Linked DNA regions of Homo sapiens: region 2 is linked to region 1. Evidence: promoter capture Hi-C in 16 types of primary human blood cells and fetal thymus (Javierre and others, 2016). All regions are on one chromosome and are shown on one strand. Each heading gives the region's core, a stretch centred on a gene start or on the middle of the fragment in contact. The rest is flanking DNA. Distances are from core to core; before and after follow the strand shown.

Region 1 (3,886 bases), core at 482-2,981:
TTACAGAGATAAGACAGTTTCTGTTCCAGCAGAATGTTTGCCCATTTTATTCTCTGCTCTATTCCCAGCAACTTAAAACAGTGGCAAAGAGTGGGCGCTCAATATATATTTATGTTGAAAAGAGATGGGGACTCATTTATAAGAAACAGAATTTAAACTAGTAAAACACTAACAACAATAAAGACAAAGACCCAGGGAATCACTTTACAGCAGAATTTGGTTGAATCACATGAGTTCCTTTTGCCTCAAGTACTGACCATAGAGGGATATCAAGTATTTTCTAATGAGTTTTGCTACTTTCAGGAGGTTAAATGAAATTCTTAGCCAGTAATAAATAGATGAGAGAGGGAGAAAAAGAGAGAAAGGGAGGAAGGGAAGAAGGGTGGAAGAGAAAGATAGAAACAAAGAGAAAAGAGAGAGAGAGCAAGTTTGACCCAACATCTGAAAAAATTAAAGGCAAACAAACCTAAAGACATAACCCACCTTCACACTGGTCACCCAAAGTTAAAACAACAATTTTAAATTTAAGAAAAGTATGGTTTCTTTTCTTAAATTTAAATAGGTGGTTAAATTAAATCCTAACTGTCTAGATTAGTGCTATCCAGTATAAATGTAATGTAAGCCAGAAATGCGAGCCACATATGGATTCTAAAATTTTCTGGTAGCCACATTAAACAAAGTAAAAATTTACAAAGTAAAAATTTAATTTATAAATTTAAAATTTACAGTAAATTAATTTTAATAATATATTTTATTTAGCTTAACATACCTAAAATGTTGTATGTTCAACATGTATTTAATTTTTAAAAATTATTAATGAGATATTTTATACCACTTTTTGTTGTACTGAGCCTTCAGTATCTGGTGAGTATTTACACTACAGCAACTTTCAATTTGGAAAAGCCACATGTGGCTACTGAATGAATGAGATCATGCAGTCTAGAAGCAGGTGCACCCTTTCGTCAATTATGCACAAAAATCTTTTGACCCCGGACTTTCTTCCATTTATCACCAACACATTTTTCAACTGTCACCAAAATGGCTTAGCTATTTTGATGCGACTTTACTTTTAGGTGAAGTAAACTCAGTGTTTCTGCCATTACTATAGTACTATAGCACAATAGCACAATTGAGTTTTGCACAGTTGTGAGAACAGGAGACTGACCTAGATTATTTTTAAGGCCCATTCTCAACCTAAAACTTATGATTATGTCAAAAACATTATTTAAAAAGCACTCTGTTTAAATAAAATATCATTATCATTAATTTTGGTATTCAGAAAGTAAATCTACTCCCAAAGTAACCAAAATGAAATGGATAAATAATTTTGCTGTAAGAGTTCTTGGATTATCAATGGAATTTTATTCCTAATAATAATGATAATAAAGAGTCATTTCTAGGAAACATTTATTGAATGCCATAATGCCATTCCATCTTCTGCCTTTCCCCACTCTTCGCCTCCACTAAACTATCCACTTAAGTATCAGAATCCTTTCACAAAATTAACATATCAGCCCATGAATTTTCTAAATGCAGCCTTTGCACAGAAGAATTAAGGAAGCTTACCAATTATTGTTAGGTAAAAGCCAGCCACTAAATCCGCTTCCCAAGAAAGTTTGGAAGCAAAAGGATCCCCATCTCGAAGGTAATGGGGCAGGCGCTCGTCCTGAGGCAGGGCAGTGTGATTTAACGCCATTCTGTTCTCGAACCACGAGGGATCTGAAAAGCAAACCAGTAGAGATCTCAGCAGACCTGAATAAGCCAGCTTGAACCATTTCATAATCGTGGCTCCTGTTTTAAAACAAAAAGCAAGTTCCCAGGGTCATGCATGATTCTCTAATTAATAACTGGTAAAAATTTTAACATTTTTTTCAATGATCCAATTATGTCATTACTCAGTTATTCGGTTGGCAGATTATCCAAGCCTTCATTTTCTCCTCTGTTTTCTCATGCTACTCTTTGAGCCACTTCTTTTCTCCTTGGGGTGATTAAAAGGTTGAAGGCCAAACTGTGCAATTTACTGTTTCTTAGCAATTTTTGTAAAGGTCTGAGCAGGAAATGATATTGTATGGAGTGTGCACACATACACACACACACACTATATATATATAATTTATGTATATAAATTATATATAATATATAAAAAATTTACATATGTATATATATAACTTGTCAGAATATAGTATTTTTTGATTATCCAGATTTCCCAGAAAATCATTTCCATTGTACATTCAATGAGGTTTAGAGTTTTGTAAGGAAAGAAATAGAGCATTCAGTACAAAGGAACATGGACACTTAATTAATTGAAGCTAAGAGCTAGGTGATTGTCAAAGTGATCTTGAAATTTGGAGCTATTTAGAAAGGATTCAAGCTGGGTTGTAACTCACAGGCACATCCACAGGAAGGTTTGTTTCTCAAGTTTCCTAGAGCAGAAAGCAATTTCATTATTTCTCACCACTGCCCCAAATCCATACTTTCTATTTGCTCATTTATGCTTCTGGATGAAATCTTGAGCATTGAGGAATTTCTCAGATACACAGGTCTTAGTACTGTTTCTTTTGAATTGGAGTTTTAAAAGGTTTACACAAAGTCTTTGATGGGCTTTCTGCAAAAATAAAAGTCACATGATATCCCTCATCCTGAAACTTGGAGTCGTGTGTTGTTCTTCAGATAAAGTATGCTGCTGATGTTAAAACTTCCTTTGGAAGGGTCATTCCTTTGTCATGATTGTTCCTATTTGTTTTGAAAGGGGAAGAAATACTAGTGTGGCTGTTTCTCTTTTGAACTTGCCTATTTCAAATCGAACCAACAGATGTCACTGTTCAGCTCTCTAGGCAACAATTTCGGGCATTATATGAGACAGCAAGTGGAACACAGAGTTGTGTGCCCCACAGGCGGTGACAGGGTGATCGGCACATATCTAACCATGTAATTCACCTTCGCAAAAGACATGAATTTAACCCCTTTCTAACTGCCAACTTACAGCTTACAGAGGAAGGCTAGTGACCCTTTCAGTGGCCAGTTGGCTGAAACTACAGTCTCCTACACACAGTTTGAGGACAGTCATGTGCTAATGTTCATTCCAAATCCTTCTCCCTGAGATGGTTAGAAAGCTGTAGGAGAAATCTTTGGCTGCCAGATGCACCACATCCCAAGACCTACCCCAGGTGAAAGTTTATCTTTACCTTTCAAACTCCTGATTCCCCTTTGACTGCCTCTTGTTCTGGTAAACTCTCTCCTCCCCAAAGATTGCCCCCGCCCAACTGGCTGTCCAGTCCTGTCCTCCACCTTAGCTTCAGAATCATAAGATGAAGGTTGGAGTCCAGCTGTGATACCCACCCTCTGATCTTGAGCAAATCATTTAAACTTTCTGAACTGCAACCACTTCATCTGTAAAATGGGCAGTCTCCTTCTTACCTGTCACTCATGCTTGTTGTAGGAGCAATAGGATATCGGACTCGAAAGCATATTATGAATGGGGGGTCCTGTATATTTATTATATGCTGAGATGCTTACTTTTCCCAAACTTGCCTATCCATCAAGATATAGCTATTGTATAAGAGATTTCCTCAGGGTCCCATGCTGAATCAATGGATGCTTGTGTGTTAACTCAAGTATTCACTGAACATCTACTACAAACCCAGCATTATGAGGTAGGACAACAGAGGTTTACCATGTTATCTAGACTTAGGGAGGGTATCTATCATTTTCTGGACAGAGAAAAGATGCAACTAATGGTCAGAAAATATAATAATAATACAAGAATATAAAACAATAAAATGCTGCTTTACTTGGTTTTAGAGAATTTTTTTGAGATAGGGTCTCACTCTGTTGCCCAGGCTGGAGTGCAGCGATGTGATCAGTGCTCACTGCATCCTCGACCTCC
Region 2 (3,886 bases), core at 684-3,183, 2.1 Mb before region 1:
ACCGATAAGAAAAGTTTCTTCCAAGCTTTGATTTTTATATAACCACCAAGCAGCCTTCATTATGTAAACTGATAAGTTATCTTGTCCACATAAATTTGATGAGAAGGGGAGAATGAGCCAGCGTTGATGACAGCCACTCATGTTTCGTTCCAATGAGTCATGGAGAATTGACACAGAGTTTTGATCATCCCTGAGTATACTGGATAAGATCAGAGAAATGAATCCCATGCACAGTCATGTACGGCCCATGTACAGAAAGGCAACACTCAAGTCCTCTTTGAACATCAGCCTGTTCATAGCAAAATGATCAACGCTACCTTTTGGACCTTTACCCTCTCTCTACCCATCTCTCCTATCCCAGAGAAAATGAACATTGGGTTTTGTTAAAATTAGAAATTACATCTAGAAGCCCAACTTACTTTCAAAAAGAAAAACTGACAAAAAATAGAGACAATGTCAATCATCAAGTCATCCTCCCCGTCAGCTGATTTTCTCCACCTGGTTTCCATTGTGTGCAGCTATGTGCGTGTACATGCATGTGTGGTATCCAGACACGTGGGAGTCCTTTTGTTTCTATGACTTCTTATTAAGCCATGCCCAAAGTAAACCTAAAAGCAACATGTTTACTTTTAATCATGGATGACAATATGGATATTATAGTCATTTAGTAAAATATTTAATCTGTAATAAAACAACTCTTTATCATTGCAGATTGTTTGGGCCACATCTTACCTGATTGGCTGTGCCATTGCATCTTGCCGCCAACAAGGATCACCTCGATATCTCTACGTTTGTCACTATTGTCATGAGTATGTATTATTAGTTTTTAAAATATATATCCCCCTAAAGTAACCTAATCTAGTTTTTCAAACATTGTTTTTTTGTGTGCATAAATGTTTGTAGCAACTTTATTCATAATAGACAAGAGCTGGAAATAACCCAGATGTCCTTCAAAGATGAATGGTTACACAATCTGTAGTTTGAGTCTTGACTACTTCCTAGTTATGTGAAAACACATATTTAGTTATATATTATTTTATTCCTTTGACTGTATTTTCTCTTATTTAAAAAAAACTCCAATATATTTTCAGAGCAATTTACCAGCAGTCTTCCTATGTGTCATTGATTCTTCAGGTAATTATTATATAAGAGAAACAAATTTGATTAAGCAAAGAAACAAGGACATTTACTTCAACAAAACAAGAGTATTGTTAGACCAAAAGGACAGACATGCAGTGGAGTCTTAACAAGGAAACAAATAGAAAGAGCCAAGTGTCTTTCCCTGTATTTAGCTATCTAGTCAAAAAGTTGTTGCATGTCTTCTCTTTAAAAATTAAATATACATGTTACAGATTCTACCACAGATACTAGTCACAATTCCTAGAAAATTTAATCTGATTGTTTCAGTAAGGTTCTGCTGCACCTTCTTCTCCTATCAACTGTGATTATGAAGCAAGATCAAGTAAGACAAGGATGACTGCAGGGCCCAACTGTGTGGCTCCAGTGACGGTTATCAGAAAAGTGAAGATTATTCAGAGCTGGATAGAACTGCCTGATATTTGACTACAAATGCCAGTTCAATATCACTTCTGCACTTCTGCTGATAAAAGTCAGTGACGCCATCATATATCTCCTTCAGCTACATGTATTTCTTAGATTAACACATAAGTCTTTCCTACATAATGTGAACTCAATGCATGGTGCTTAACCACTGCCTCCCATGTATGTAGCACAATACAAAATGTTCAGTATAAATCAATGAACATGATTTATTTGAAAACACACTGCCATACTTCACATTTTCAGTGGCGCCACCACTATCACTATTGATTCAGAGTGTAATATCACCATATAATAACTCTATATGAGTTATATATAAATTGTGCTGAAGACAATAAAATCTCTTTGCTGCTACAACACATCATTTGTGATACATGTTTTCAAGGGTTGGTAGTCTGCAGTGAACTTCAACTGATCCAAAAAAGAAAAGTACAAAATATGGAGATCTATGATGGGGAATTTTCTTGGTTGAAGATTAGTCCAAGTCTCTCATTAAATCTCTTACTGAATTTAGTAATAATCTTCTTTTCAAAGTGAAATTTTAGCAGCTCAGATAAACAAATATCATATTTAAAAAGGCTTTTTAAAACCAGAACATTTACTTTTTAAAGTTGTATTTAGAAGCAGATATTATCTACATTATGTTTTTAGACATACATGGGTAAGAATTGTCTTTTCTTTTTTGTTTTTCCTTTTGAGATAGGGCCTTGTTCTGTCACCCAGGCTGGAGTGCAGAGGTGTCAACATAGCTCCCTGTAGTATTGACCTTCTGGGCTCCAGCTATCCTCCCACCTCAGCCTTCCAAGTATCTGGAACTACAGGCATACGCCACCAGGCCTAACTAATTTTTTTTTTTTTTTTTTTTTTTTTTTTTGTAGATATGAAGATGCTTTTTTTTTGCCCAGGCTTTTCTCAAACTTTCGGGCTCAAGCAATCCTTCCACTTTGCCCTCTCAAAGTGCTGGGATTACAGGGATAAGTCATTGAGCCCTGCCCGTCTTTTCTAAAGTTTCAAATTAGTCCAGAACTAGAACTTCTCATCTACTTTCTTTCCCACACCCCAGCACTTTAGTTTTATCCATGCTGATGTACTTTCATCTTTTATATACACCATCTCTTTCAATAAAAGACATTAACATGTAAAAAGTTTCTTATAACATAGTGCAAGATGGAGTTAGAACCTCTCTAACTTGCCTCACTTGAGATTTTCTTCTTAACATTGGTAAGAATCATGCCCTTTTAAATGATGGTTTACCAAGTCCTTATAGGTATTAATGAAGAATGTTCTATTGTAATTGGCTCTAAAGCCCTCTTGCTTGTGAGTCCCCTTGCTTGTACTTGGGAGTACCCAAAGTTCCCAAGTACTGTTAGGACTTGACTGTCCAACGAGATGTGCACATTGACTGAAAAATATTTTCATGTCACTCACATTTATTGGTTCTACGTGCTAAAAAATATTATAGCTGTAAGATTGGAAATCTCACACCCATCTTAAAAATTATCACTGTTCTTTACAAGAATGTTTACACAATTTGTTTTTAAAATTGGTTGTACACTGTGAGTAAAGTTTTATGTGAGTTTTTCAAAGATGGGTTTTATGAAATCACTTTTTTTTATTCAAGGGGAAATGATCCTGAAACAAAGAATGAACCTTATAAGACAGGCGTCCCATGTGAAGCCTGCCCAAGTAACTGTGAAGACAAACTTTGCAGTAAGTTTGTTTGCATTCTGTTTGTTTACAGTTAACCCATTGATCTGGGAACCATACATCCTTTAAATTAAGCATTAAAAAACATCGCACTTTTCTACAACTTTCATCTCATTCATGTACAAATTATTTCTGCTTACCCCTCCCCAATTGCCAGAGTGACTGAAAACCATTGATTTAACCTATGGCAAAGGAAATTACAAAGTCTAGGTCTGAGAACTCGAGTTCCCACCCAACAGATTAAAATATTTAATTAGGGTCAACCTAGATAAAATATTGAGGTAAGTGTAGATTTTTCTCTGCTCTCTAAAAAGTTCTTGGACCCCCTTACTGCAACCCATAATTTAGGCCCATTGCTTTCAGTTTACCGGTGTTCTCCAATTGCTTGCCCCTCCATGACTACCTACCCAGGTTGCCTGACCACTTATTGTGGCATGCAATTTTTACTGAGTGATCCTTATTCTTCTTTGGTTCCTGTGAACCATCTAAAAAGTTAGCTGATGCTCACATTATTCCTTAAAGCCTCTTTTTTTTTTTTAATTTCTTGAATAAATCTTACCTAAGGTAAAGCTTTAGCCAAATGGGTGCCATTTCTGTTTATTCCCTTAGATAGCCAAAT

The links. Contacts are between HindIII fragments. The CHiCAGO score rates a contact against its expected background, and 5 or more counts as called.
Region 2: a fragment that was not itself captured here is called in contact with the fragment with the promoter of OPN5 in region 1 in 2 of 17 cell types (neutrophils and M2 macrophages); the score reaches 6.8 in neutrophils.

Annotation. Positions count from the first base shown.
Region 1 is chr6:47,779,877-47,783,762 of GRCh38, reverse strand. OPN5 (opsin 5) reads right to left here and starts at 1,731. Exons shown (of 7, transcript NM_181744.4): 1 at 1,567-1,731. The coding sequence starts at 1,696. The HindIII fragment of the contact is 3,260 bases long and covers 1,564-3,886 here.
Region 2 is chr6:49,837,821-49,841,706 of GRCh38, reverse strand. CRISP1 (cysteine rich secretory protein 1) reads left to right here. Exons shown (of 8, transcript NM_001131.3): 6 at 712-809; 7 at 3,182-3,270. Among named protein-coding and RNA genes, the nearest start is that of CRISP1, 27 kb to the left of the region's middle. The HindIII fragment of the contact is 3,812 bases long and covers 28-3,839 here.